Regions from separate parts of the Homo sapiens genome. Here regions 2 and 3 are each linked to region 1. Evidence: promoter capture Hi-C in 16 types of primary human blood cells and fetal thymus (Javierre and others, 2016). All regions are on one chromosome and are shown on one strand. The core of a region is centred on a gene start or on the middle of the fragment in contact, and the rest is flanking DNA. Distances in the headings are between cores, read along the strand shown.

What was found. The method cuts DNA at HindIII sites, captures the fragments that hold promoters and counts their contacts. A CHiCAGO score of 5 or more calls a contact.
Region 2: a fragment that was not itself captured here is called in contact with the fragment with the promoter of LINC00955 in region 1 in 3 of 17 cell types (endothelial precursors, M2 macrophages and M0 macrophages); the score reaches 5.9 in endothelial precursors.
Region 3: a contact is called between a fragment that was not itself captured here and the fragment with the promoter of LINC00955 in region 1, in 1 of 17 cell types (M0 macrophages). The highest score is 5.2, in M0 macrophages.

The regions. Positions count from the first base shown.
Region 1 is chr4:3,573,997-3,578,390 of GRCh38, forward strand. It overlaps LINC00955 (long intergenic non-protein coding RNA 955), which reads left to right and starts at 2,873. Exons shown (of 3, transcript NR_040045.1): 1 at 2,873-3,127. The HindIII fragment of the contact is 6,504 bases long and covers 1-4,394 here.
Region 2 is chr4:3,865,070-3,869,580 of GRCh38, forward strand. No RefSeq gene overlaps it. Among named protein-coding and RNA genes, the nearest start is that of ADRA2C, 100 kb to the left of the region's middle. RefSeq lists enhancers at 1-697, 3,179-3,692. The HindIII fragment of the contact is 1,127 bases long and covers 1,914-3,040 here.
Region 3 is chr4:3,938,135-3,942,272 of GRCh38, forward strand. It overlaps the pseudogene ALG1L7P and the pseudogene FAM86EP. Among named protein-coding and RNA genes, the nearest start is that of ADRA2C, 170 kb to the left of the region's middle. RefSeq lists an enhancer at 1-300. The HindIII fragment of the contact is 5,781 bases long and covers 1-4,138 here.

The sequences.
Region 1 (4,394 bases), core at 1,623-4,122:
GTTGGCTGGGCGCAGTGGCTCCTGTCTGTCATCTCAGCACTTTGGGAGGCCAAGGCAGGTGGAACACGAGGTCAGGAGTTCAAGACCAGCCTGGCCAAGATAGTGAAACCCCGTCTCTACTAAAAATACACAAAAAAATTTAGCCAGGTTTGGCGGAGGGTGCCTGTAATCCCAGCTACTCGGGAGGCTGAGGCAGAGAATTGCTTGAACCAAGGAGGCAGAGGTTGCAGTGAGCCGAGATCGTGCCACTGCACTCCAGCCTTGGTGACAGAGCAAGACTCCATCTCAGAAAAAAAAACAAAACAAAAAACAAAAAACAAAAAAAAAAAACAAAAAAAAACCACCTGTCGGTACAATGCACAGTGCCTGGGTGATGAAATAATCTGTACACCAAGACCCCGTGACACGCGGTTTACCCGTGTAACAGACCTGCACGTGTATACCTAGAACCTCAAATAGAAGTTGGAAGGAAAAAAAAAGAAACAACAAACAAAAATAATCTGAGACTCCCTGAAGGATGAGAACGGGCTGAGCGGGGCCACAGGAGCCCGCACCGGGTCCGCGGAAGGAACTCACACTCCTGCTTCAAGGTGTGGAAGGCGACCCAAGAGGCGGTACACAGACCGCGAGGGAGCGTGCTGTGAGAAGCTCAGGGAGACAGGGCCTGGGAGGCCAGGTGAGGTGTGGGCACAGCCAGGGAGAAACACTGGTGACCCGAGACGCACGGGAACTCGCAGTCACTTGACCAAGTAGCGGCCACGTTTGCGCCACACTTCCATAAACGTGACCAGTAAGGAAGCGACAAGCCTGAAGGGTCCTGACCATTTATTACTCAGGGTACAGCATGTCCTTATCCCTCTGCCTTGTCCCCCACATCTCAGGGGGCAAACAGAGCAGGTTTGTGTCAGCCGAGGAAACCCTTGATCTTCTAAGGGGACTGCTAGCCATCTCGCCCCCATCTTTGCCACAGAAAAGACGGTATCCTTTTGCCCTGGAAGATAAACCAACGTCTCGGGGAGAGGAGGGGCCGCAGGTTTATTTCCCAGAAATGTGTGCAAATCTGCAGACACAGCAGGGAGGTTTTGCTCTCCTGCATGCCTCCAGCGGGCTCTGGCTTGCAAGAATGTCTCATGCAGGCATTCTTCCAGTGCCCTGTGCTTTGAAAAATACGCAGAAAAGCCAGAATTATGGAGGGCAGCCTCCTGGGCTTGTGGGTGTTGGGCAGGTGGAGGGAGACGTATGGAATCTTCTGGTCTCCAGGCAGCTGTGCAGTGCACCGGTCGGTGGGATCAGTCAAGGAGGTTCAGAGCAGGATGGAGGAACCGCTCCAGGGATTTCCAGCAGAGAGGGGTTTGTTGCAGGGAAGGAGATGGATCCTGGGACCCTGGAGTTCGCACCCCTGCTCTGTCTGCTGCAGTGCTCCGGGGGTACACAGCCCAGCCCAGGGTCGCCCCGGTCATGTGCCCCCAGCACCAGCCCCTGGGCCTTTTATATGTTTCTGGGATGCTGCCTGTCTTCCAGTGCCATCAGGAAAGGCTCGGGGAGCTGGGCCTCACTGGACGCCATACCCCTCCCGCTGGAACAGTGCGTAGGTGTTCCGCCCTCCAGGGCAGACTGACCGCAGGATGAACGCCCCCGCCCCACAGGTGCCCAGCGCTTCACAGCTCACAGAGCCCTTCGACCTCCCTGGCCTGGGATGACCCTCTCAACACCCCCAGGAGGAGACACCGGTGCTGCCTTCAGCAGGGAAACCTGGGCTTGGATAGGTGCAGCGGCTCCTCCAAGGTGGCCAAGCTGCCTGGCCCTCGCTCATGAATTCTGAGTAGCCCCTCCTGTCACTGCCACCCACTGCTCTCCCCGGAGGCCTGTGTGTCCTTTGTTCTCTCCTGAGGATGGCTGTGGCCTCCTCCTGTTCCTGACAGGGCCCGGTGCCCACTGGCTCATGTCAGAGTTCAGGCCTGAGGGGAGGGGTGTTTGTGCTAACAGGAGGCAGAGGGCAGCCTGCCAGTCTGGCCCTGTGGCCACCTGAGCTGTCCCCTGGGACCCGTGGCTTCATGACTCTGACCCAGTGGATGCTGTCTTCATAGTCTGAGTGGGAGCCAGGTTTGACCTTGGAGTGCCTGGGGCATAGAGTCCCTGTCCTCTGGAGGAAGAGATGGTCATCCCTTTTCATGCTGACTGGCCCCAGGGCAGGACCTGCTCTTTTGGACCCTAAAAGGGACAAGGCCTGGTGGCAGAGCAGAGCTGGGGCTCAGGAGAGGGAGACGGGTGGGAGGAAGGGAGGAAGAGGAAGAGAAGGAGGAAAGGGGGAGATGAGGAAGGGGGAGGAAGAGGAGGAGGAGGAGAAGGAAGAGGAGGAGGAGGAGATGACTCAGGCACCCACGGCATTACTGTGGCAGGCTGGCCCTCGGTTTCCCCAGCAGTAAATGAAGAGATGGGGTCAAGGGGCCCAGGCCCCCTTCCAGATCTGAGACCTGCGCATCAGGCTGTCTGTATTCAGAGGAAGCCGGGGATGGCAGCTCCCAGCCGTGGGCTCGGCCTTCATTCACTGTACAGGCTCATCCATTCACCCAGTGAACCCTCCCGAGTCCCTTCATGAGGGCGGCCTCGCAGGGACTTTGGTCTCGGCTCTGCCCTGTCCTGGCCTTGGGACCCTGGGTGAGCTGAGGCAACCCAGTTTCCTGGTCTGTGACTCCAGGCTCTGTCCTCGCCCCATCGCCCCCCATCGTGGCACAGGTTCGAGGGTGTTGGCTTGCCTGGCCTCCTGAGGGCCTTCTGGGGTTAAAGTCTTCTATCCTGAGGCTGAGACCAGGGCTGGGGAGGAGGTTCAGCCCCTGTGGACTTTATCCTCCCTCTCCACGGCTGAGTCTTGATTTACAGCTGGAAGGGCAGACGGAGGCATCTTGGTGTATACACAGCCCTGCTGGGCCACATCCCGGGTCTCCTCCCTCTGCGATGCCATAGCAGGGGCGCCTTCCGAAAGCCCTCTGGATTGAGGCAGCAGGATCTATGGTGGAACCTGCCCCGGCGTCGCCAACGCCCCTAGGACCCCAGCACACTGACTGGGGAGCATCCCTGTGTCGTTTCTGCCCGGAGAGGAGCAGAGGCCAGGCTGCTGCTCTGGGAGGTGAGTGTCATGCCTGGGAACACAGCGGGGACCCCAGGGAGGGAGAGCAGGTGTTTGCTCCCTGGGCTCTGCCTGGTGGTCCTGACAGCAGTCCTGACTGTTGCGAAGGCTGTTTTTTGGTGGCTTCCTTAGGGTCCTCGCTGTGCTCTCGGTCCCAGCACTGTCTGCTCTCCTTCCTGGTTATTTGAATGACCCGGCTCCTGTTGCTGTATCCCGGGTCCTGACCTCCCCTGAGATGGACTCTGTTCAGGCTAGACTGCCTCAAGGGACCCGCTTCAGTCTATTTGTGGCAGAAAAGGTTAGCTGGCTCCTGGGAAATGTCAGGGGATAAGTCAAAGCTGGCCAGCGGCAAGGCCCAGTGACGCCCTGTCATTTTATGACTCCCTTTTCTTAATCAGTCGAGGAGAAAAACAAGCAATGAAGGATTTTCCATGGCAACCACCAGCAGGGCAGTGTTCTCTCCCTACCTGAGCTTGTTTTAAGAAGAGGGGTCTGGCCAGAGGCTGCTGACCCTGGCCCCAGAGGGCAGGGGTCGAGTGTCCTGGAGTGTGACTCCCAGGCACCTGGGCTTGGGCTGGGCCCCTGGAGCAGGCGCAGCTAATCTGGCCAATCTACTCCTTCACACTCATGGAGCAAATGGGGAAACAACCCAGAGAGGGGCAGCCCAAGGAAGCAAATTTGTAGAGCCTGACACTCTGAGAGAGCTCTCAGAAGGATACTAGTCTTCTAAACCAGAAACTTATTCATATAATAATAATAATGTTTATAATAATAACATTATTAATTCCTTCACCATCCACCCACTTACTCACCCTCTTACCCATCTGTCCATTCAACTCATCCACCCCCACATCCAGCCAGCTTCCATCCTATCATACATTCATCCACCTACCCGTCCACCCTTTCATCCTTCCTTTCTTTCATCACCCACCCATCCTCTCACTCATTCATTCATCCATCCACCCATCCATCCATCTACCCATTCATCCACCCATTCATTTATTCACTCTCCCATCCACCCATCCATTCACCCTTTCTTTCTTTCATCATCCATCTATCCACCCATCCATCCATTCATCCACATATTCGTCCACCCATTCATTATTCACTTATCTATCCATCCTTCCAACCATCCATCCATTCATCCACCTATTCTATTCACCCACCCATCCTTTCATGCTTTCTTTCTTTCATCATCCATCCATCCATCCATCCATCCATCCATCCATCCATCCGTCCATCCATCCATCCACCTATTCCATTCACC
Region 2 (4,511 bases), core at 1,227-3,726, 290 kb after region 1:
CTGAGCCCACCTTCCGGCTGTGGCGGCGGGGCCACCCAGGCCCTGTGGAGGGGCCTGCACTCCGTCTCTGCCTCCCACCTCCCTGCCTGGGCCCAGGTAGCCACGGTCCAGGGGCAGGCCAGATGAGTGTCTGGGGTTCCAGCCTCCCTGCTGCCGGGCAGTGCTGCGCTGTGCCGGCCGTGCCAGCGTGGGGAGGGGGCCGTCATGGCTCTCAGCTCCTGCAGCCCATGGCCCAGAGGCTACCCTCACCAGGGCAGGCTCCAGGCCCTGAAGACACCCCTCTCCCTCCAGGGCAGCCTGTGCCAGCTCTGAAAGCGCCCCCGCCCCCCACCCACTGCCTCGGGGAGGTCGTCACAAGGCTTCCTGTGCAGGTACTCACCGGGGCGGCAGGAGCACAGGGCTCCATCTGCCCACAGGAGAAAGGAGGGAGCAACTTCGCCTGCCCTTCCCTGGGGGAACACGGCTGGAGCTGTGGCTGTGATGACTGGAGCTGTGGCTGTGGCTGTGACAGCTGGGTGGCAGGTCCAGGCGTCCCACCCAGGGTACTGTCCTCTGCATCCAGTCCAGGCAACACAGAATAAGCATCATGCTCCAGAGGAGGTAGCCTGCCTGTCCTTCAAATCCCTCTCCTGAGGCCCATCCTGCCCTTATGCTTGTCTTATCCCCAACCAGACAGGCTGCCCGTGCCACTCCGATGCCCAGCACCCACCAGCATAGCCACCTGGAGTTGTTTCCCCAAGCTGCAGGCCACTGTGTTAAGGGCCAGTCAGAGCTCATTTGGACAGGAAGGTTTTCTACACATTACAGCTCCCAAGCTGAAAGAAAGTTGTGAAAGCTGGACAGGTGGACATGGGTGGGAGAGGTGACACGGGTGGGACAGGTGGACACAGGTGGGAGAGGTGACACGGGTGGGACAGGTGGACACGGGTGGGACAGGTGGACACGGGTGGGACAGATGGACACGGGTGGGAGAGGTGACCCGGGTAGACGTGGGCAGGAGGGGCAATCTGGGTGGACGCTGGTGGGAGGGGTGTAATCTGGGTGGTCACGGGTGGGACGGGTGACCCGGGTGGACGAAGGTGGGAGGTGTGGTCCGGGTGGACACGGGTGGCAGGTGTGATCCGGGTGGTCGCAGGTGGGAGGGGTGAGCTGGGTGGACGAGGGTGGGAGGTGTGATCTGGGTGGACAAGGGTGGCAGGTGTGCCTCAGGTGGAGAAAGCAGCGTGATGCCTGCAGCCCAAATGGAAGTCACAGCCACCCAGGCAGGCAAGAGCTATGCCAGGCTGAGAGATGGAGATTTTGTCAGGAGGGCCAGGAGCATCTTGGGCTGACCCAGAGGTGGGGGTGACGCAGGCCCAGTAGGGGTTGAAGGCGGGGCTGGTGAGCTGGACAGGCAAGGGGAAGGCTGAATCCTGGCTAGAATATTACAACTCAGGTGATAATTATGCCCACTGTGGAGTCCAGATGGGCCCCCGGAGCTCTGGGATCAAGGCCTCATCTTCCCCGGTGAGGAGGAGGGTAGCCCCGAGGGGAGTGGGCAGCTCCATGGGGAGCCCAGGGCTGGGCCTGACTTCTCAGAGCCTTCCTGGCAGGCTGCAAAGGACCTTCAGTCATCCCCCTTCCAGCCTGGCTTGAATTCCCTGAGATGGGGACTCACTGCTAAGCCACCTCCATCACCACGGACGTGGACACAGGAGGGTAAGGCAGTGGTCCAGCGTGGTGGCCCCCATGTGAGGGACAGCAGGGATGGGAAGAAAAACGGCAGGAGAGTGGGGAGGCAGAACACAGAATGGGCTGCGGGAACGGGAGGCCAGCAAGGCTGGGGCCGCTCTGTCTGCTCAGATAGACTCATTCCAACGGATGCCGGCCAGATTCGTGTCCTGGGGCCGCCAAAACCAAGTCCCACAAACTGAAGCTTCAAACAACAGACACTGCTTCTCCCCAAGTTGTGGAGGCCAGAAGCCCGAGATCCAGGTGCCAGCAGGACTGTGGTGGCTCTGCAGTCCCCAGGGAGGCTCCTTCCTGCCTCTTCCAGCCTCTGCAGGCTACAGCAGGACTCTGGTCTCTGCCCCCACTGGCCCCGCACACTCCCTGCCTGTCCATGCCTCTTCCCCCCTTCTAAGGACACCAGTCATGTGGGTTCAGGGCCCACCCTACTCAAACAGGGCCTCATTTAACTGAACCAATTACACCTGCAGTTCCCTGTTTCCGGAGAAGGGCAAATTCTGGGGTTCCAGGAGAGACATGAAATGAGGGGGACATTATCCACCCAGTATACTGGCTGAAGGCCTCAGGGCCTCCTGGGCTGGTCTCAGGGTGGGAGGGAGACTTGGTCCCTGTGGAGGTGAGCAGTCCAGGGCCTTCAGAGCCAGCCTCCACAAACGTGTGGATGAATCAGTGAGGGAGAGGGCTGTGCTGTGGCCCTTGTCCTCGGGGAGTAAGCCTGTCTGTGGTGATGGCCATAGCACCAGGATGCAAGGTAGCAGGTGAGAGGGGCAGGGACACAGGCGGTGCCGCCCATCCTGCCCGGGGAAGTCTGGAAGCCTCTTCGGGCTGACCTGCCAGCCAGGCCTTGGAGGCGAGGAGGCACTGCTGTGAGGACTCTGCAGCCCTTGGCTGGGACATGTCCCCCACTGTGGGCAGCTGCTGCTGCAGACACACTGGCTGTTAAGGAGCAGAGTCCAAGCCTCCTGCAATACGTTCGGGAACTTTCTGCCTTGGAAAACATCGAATCTCTAATATTGTCCCTTTCCTCTAGAAAAGGCACTGGGTACAGAGATGACAAGGCGCTGGCCCTGCCTTCCAGGGGCCCCCAGCATCATGGGGAAGACACCCAGTGACTGGCCAACTCATCTCTGCCTTTCCGCTGTCGGCTGCACAAGTGTGCACCTGCTGTGGCCCCTGGGAAGTCTTCTGTGCTAAAGTGGAAAGGCTTCCAGTGCCTTCACAAAGTAAATGCTGCTGAACGACAGCTGCCTATCTCAGTCCACTTGTGTCGCTACAAAGGATACCCGAGGCTGGGTGATTTATAAAGAACAGAAGCTTACTTGCTCACGGTTCTGCACGCTGCCTGGGAAGCACGGCCCTGGCATCTGCTTGGCTTCTGGGGAGGCCTCAGGAAGCTTCCACTCACGGTGGAGGGGGAGGGGCTGCGTGTGTGGAGCTCACAGGGCGGGAGAGGAAGTCAGAGAAGGAGGTGGGTGCGGGCTATTTTCAGTAGCTGCTTTGTCGGAAACTCAGACAGTAGAATTCACTCCCCAACCCCCGCCCCAGGGCATGAATCTACTCACAGGGATCCACTCCATGAGGAAAACACCTTCCATTAGGCCCCACCTCCAACACTCTGGGATCAAATTGCAACCTGAGGTTTGGAGGCCCAACCATGCAGCTGCCAGCACTGCTCCTGGATATCACCAAGGAATACGGGTCAGTCTCAGTCCTAGAGATAGCTGCTACCCTCAGGGACTCAGCCCTAGCAGTACCAAGGACAGCGGCCTAACCACCAGATGTGCCTCCTGATAAGGTCATTGGAGCATTCGCAGACAGTCTTCAAGCATCCACTGTGTGCCAGGCTCGCGCACCGAGGCCATGCCAGCGGGTGTCATCATGCCAGCTCTTCCCAGGCCTGGGCAGCTGAGACCTGTGCATGCCAGGCCAAAGTCTCCAGCCCCAGATGTGAACCTGGAATGCCCCGGCCCACCTCCTCCTTCTTGGGGTCCCCAGATTCGCTTCCCGAGGACCTCGAAGGGTTCACATTCTCACCATAAGCAGGCGCTCACACCGGGGGCAAGCAGAGGGACAGCAGCCCCCTAGAGGCAGGGCCCAAGGGTCCCATGCACTTCACCCCTGCTGCAGGACCTGGCCTGGGCCTGTGACTTGGGAATGCCACATCATAGAGGTTCTCTGGAAACAAGGAATGCAGACCCCATGACCACGTACCCCCACTCCCCAGATGACCCACTGCAGCAGACCAAACATGGGCATCCATCTCTGAGTGCCCCGCAGTGCAAGCAAATGACGTGTCTGGGTTTGTGTCTCCCCAGAGCTGACTGGAGATAGGGATCTGAGGGTTAATGTGTCCTTGGGAGTCGAAGAGAGCAGTGTCAAGGGCAGTGGGGAGGGAGGAGAGGCAGCCACTAAGCAGGAGAGACCTGCAGCTTCTCAGATGGCCTCCCTGTGGTGGCTGGGTCCTAGTGGGTCCACCTGACATCTTGCCTTTAATTTCCTACAGCTGCCGACAAAGCGCAATAAAGCCGGTGACCTCAGATACAGAGTTTATCCTCTCACCATCCCGGAGGCCAGAAATGCCAGACCAAGGTGCCGGTGGGCCGTGCTCCCTCAGGAGGCCTTGGCGAGGCTCCCTCTTGGGGCCCCAGGTGTTCCTGGGCTTGTGGCTACATTGCTCCCATCCCTGCCTCAGTTGTCACATTCTCCCCAGGTGCCTGTGTCTTCTAACAAGGACATCAGCCATTGGATGAAGCCACCTTAAATCCAGGATGACTTCATCGTAA
Region 3 (4,138 bases), core at 1,066-3,565, 360 kb after region 1:
TCTGGAGGCTGTGGCAGGGCAGGGGCGTCTTGGAACCTGCGCCATGTGCTCTGGGGGCTGTGCCAGGGAAGGGGGAGTCCTCGTGTCCCCTGCGCACAACACAGACAGAAGGCTGGATCCACCCAGTGGGCGGTCGGGTGCCAGGCCAGTGCTTACTCCGCCATGTTTGCAGCCCGAGGCCAGCTGGCTGCAGGTGCAGGACTATGCCTCAGGGGTCAGGGTGCACACACCCCTGCATGTCTCGGGGCTCCTGGGTAGCTTCTGGAAGGGCCCAGATGGGGCCTGACTGGAGCTGCCGAGGGGTGGAGCTTCTGGGAAAAGGATCCCTCCTAGGGGGGAGTGTCTTGAGCCTGGGGCCATGTGGCAGGGACAGAGACGGGTCCATGGCAGTGTCTCCTCTTCTCTGTGAAGGCAAAGGGCCTCTGAGGGAGTATTACAGCCGCCTCATCCACCAGTAGCATTTCCAGCACATCCAGGTCTGCACCCCCTGGCTGGAGGGCCGAGGACTACCCCCGCTTCTAGGTGAGAGGCCAGCGGGAGGCTCAGGGAGGAGGCAGGGCCTTAAGCAGGGGGAACAGGGGTGGGCAGGATGTACTTTTTCTGAAAAGGTGGCTCTGGAGGCCACTTGGGCACGGGACCTGGGCTCTGGCTGAACTCCCGGGAGGAGGCTACTTTCTGGTGTGCCAGCCCCTCCCAGCCAGGTGGCCCCAGAGGCCCTTTACCAAGGGGTTTGAGGAGGTCACATCCTTTCAGCCTGCCACGCCCTCCATTCAGTCCTCTTCCTTCCTGCAGGAGGGCTGGGCCTGGGGTTGGGGCCACTGTTGCCCAGGTGTAGGAAGGCAGTGGCTTTGGGAGGTACAGGGACGATGTGTCAAACAGCGTCGCCTCTCCCAGTGAGATGGTTCTGCTTTGCCTCCGTCTCTTTCCCCGTTGTTTTCTCCAAGTGGGGAGTTGTGTCTTGGTCCTGATGCGTCTCTAGAGCCGCATCTTCCAGCTTCTAGTGAGCAGAGCAGTTGGAGGCTGAGGCCTTTTCCTGGCAGGACTCTCCAGCTAGTCTTTGTTTTAGACAGTCTCGCTCTGTTGCCTAGGCTGGAGTGCACGATCTCAGCTCATGCAACCTCCGCCTCCTGGGTTCAAGCGATTCTCCCACCTCAGCCTCCCGAGTAGATTATGGGATTACAGGAGCCCTCCACAACACCTGGCTTATTTTTGTATTTTTAGTAGAAACAGGGATTCACCATGTTGGCCAGACTGGTCTTGAACTCCTGACCTCAAGTGATCCTCCTGTCTTGGCCTCCCTAAGTGCTGGGATTCCAGGCGTGACCCATCACGCCTGGTCCCAGCTAGTCTTTAGAAATGTTAAGCCGTTTCGCTTTATTTTCACACTGACAGCTGGTTTGTAGTGGGTGTGCTGTGGTTTATTATTATTATTATTATTATTATTATTATTATTATTATTTTGAGAAGGAGTTTCGCTCTTGTAGCCCAGGCTGCAGTGTAATGGCACGATCTTGGCTCACTGCAACCTCTGCCTTCCCAGGTTCAAGCAATTCTCCTGCCTCAGCCTCCTGAGTAGCTGGGATTACAGGCACCTGCCACGACACTTCGCTAATTTTGTGTTTCTTTTAGTAGAGATGGGGTTTCACCACGTTGGCCAGGCTGGTCTTGAACTCCTGACCTCAGGTGATCCGCCCACCTTGGCCTCCCAAAATGCTGGGATTACATGCGGGAGGTGAACCTGGGAGGTGGAGGTTGCAGTGAGCTGAGATTGTGCCACTGCACTCCAGCCTGGGTGACAGAGTGAGACTCTGTCTCAAAACAAAACAACAACAACAAAAAAACCAAATTGTGATTACGTAGAAAAAGTGTCAACTTACATTTTCAGATGTCCCAGCCAGACCATGTGGCTGCTTGGCCAGCTTAAGCCACTTGTGCTTGGGGCTGCGGGGGGCCTTATCTGATTTTCACTCCCCTCGGGGGATGCTGCCTCACTGTGCTGGGAGGATTTGTGTTCCCAGGGCAGAGACCAGCTCTCTGACCGCACCCCTCTTGCCTAGCAGGGTCGGTGGACCTGGGTGTCTGTCTAGACACGTCCTCCAGTGGCCTGGACCTGCCCATGAAGGTGGTGGACATGTTCAGGAGCTGTTTGCCTGTGTGTGCGTTGTGAACTTCAAGTGGTAGGAGCAGAACCCGAATCTTTCTGGGGATAGCTTCACAGATCCACCGCTGAGGGGGAAACAGTGCAGAGCCAGCTGCCCACAGTGAGGCCCTGCCCCTTGGTCAGTCCAGCACACACTGGAGGCCATGAGGAGGAGCCCTGTGGTTACTGTGGCTGGGCTGAGCCTCACTGAAGTAGTTGCTTCCATTTAGAACTCATGTTATATTTAGGTTGGTACAAAAGTAATCACGGTTTTTGCCATTAAAAATGGCAATAACTTTTGCACCAACCTAATATGAAAAAAGAAAGCACCTTAAATACTAGAACTCCACTCGGGGCTTTTGCTCCTAGAGTAGAATTGGCGGGAATTGCCTGCAGGCTTACATGGTTTTCTTTGTTTTTCTCTCCCACCATGTCCCTTTTGGCCAAGCTCACATGGTGGGTTTGAATGAGTTAAATGAGTGTCATGCTGTGGCCTCACTGCACCCAGCATAGATGGGTGTTTGGAAGGGTGGCGTTAGAGGAGATTCTAGAAGCAGTAGCCCCAGCACAAGTTGAGCCCTTGGCCCCTGCTCAGGAGCCGGCTCCTGGATGGGATTCAGGGATTCAAGCCCCTCGTGTGAGCTGAGCTCAGGGAACGTCTTGATCAAATCTGGTGCCCTAGAAAAGTCATCTTTTATGTGCTGAACCAGTCTCCAGGGGGTTGCCTTACTTGTTCCACAGCCATGGAATTAAGAAAAACATACAAAAATAATTCTTCAGTCCTTGAAGAGCATCCAGCACAGAAGGTACAAACCCTCCTTAAGGCTCCCTCCTCAAATCGGTTTGGCCATTTTGATGTGCACTCCCCCAGGCCTTTATACCCTTCAGATGCCAAATCTAAGAACCAGCTCCCAGAAACCACACCCCCTGTTCCAATCCCCAGCCTGGCTTGAGCGTGGGGTGCGAGGGGAGCCCAGGTGGGCACCCCAGGGGTCTGGTGTCTTCTCCAGGCAGCTCTCAGGCTCCCTTGGTTCTCTCTGCAGTTTACATGAGCTGGTGAAACATCAAGAAAACGGCTTGGTCTTTGAGGACTCAGAGGAACTGGCAGCTCAGCTGCAGGTAGCCACATCTGCCACTAAGCCAGGGTGGGCAGGGTTCTGGAGACTGGCACCGAGCCACGCTCCCTGATCCCTGCTTCCCACAGTCGGGGTGGGACCATGTGGGGTCTGGCGGAAAAGCTAGGGAGGGAGCAGAGGTCACAGAGGCTGGCCTACTCTGCTGTCCCGTTTCGGTACAGTAGGCTCGGGAAAGTTAGGACACAACCCCACCTGCCCGCCTGCCCGCTGGATTTATGGAACAGACACTCCACAAATGACGCTGGAGCCGGGTGGGCCGGGCTGCAGTTTAGGAAGTGAGCAGGATCAGGTAGGTGAGTGGGCAAAGGGAGCTTCTGGGACCAGCCTTGAAAGATGGGTGGAATTCTGCAAATGTTACTTGTTTCTTATTGCAAAAAGTAATACATCGTTCTTGCCAACAGAATGACTGGCAGGATTTTCAGTAAAGGTCCAAGTCGGAAGTCATTTAGACTGGGTCCCCTAGTCTCTGTCAGAACCATGGTACTCTGTTGGGGTGTGAAAGTAGCCACAGATCATCTGTAGATTAAGGGGTGTGGCTTTGTTCCAATAAATCTTTATTTACAAACACAGGCTGTGGGCTGGATTTGGCCTGCAGGCTGTAGTTTGTGATCCTTGATTCAGACAGTTTAGCAAGGCTGAAAAGAACACCGACACCCCCTTGTTACCCACAGATGGGTGGGACTTGGCCAGAGGCCAAGAGGAGGGTGCTCGCAGGGGAGCATACAGCATGAAGAGGCCGGGAGGTGCCCCAGGACACCAAGTGTGGGAAAGTGGGACATGCGGGGAAGTTCCCAGAAAGCGTGATGTCAAGTTGGAGGCGGAGCGCTGCTGGGGCGTGAAGAGTCTCGAGTCCAAGTGAGGG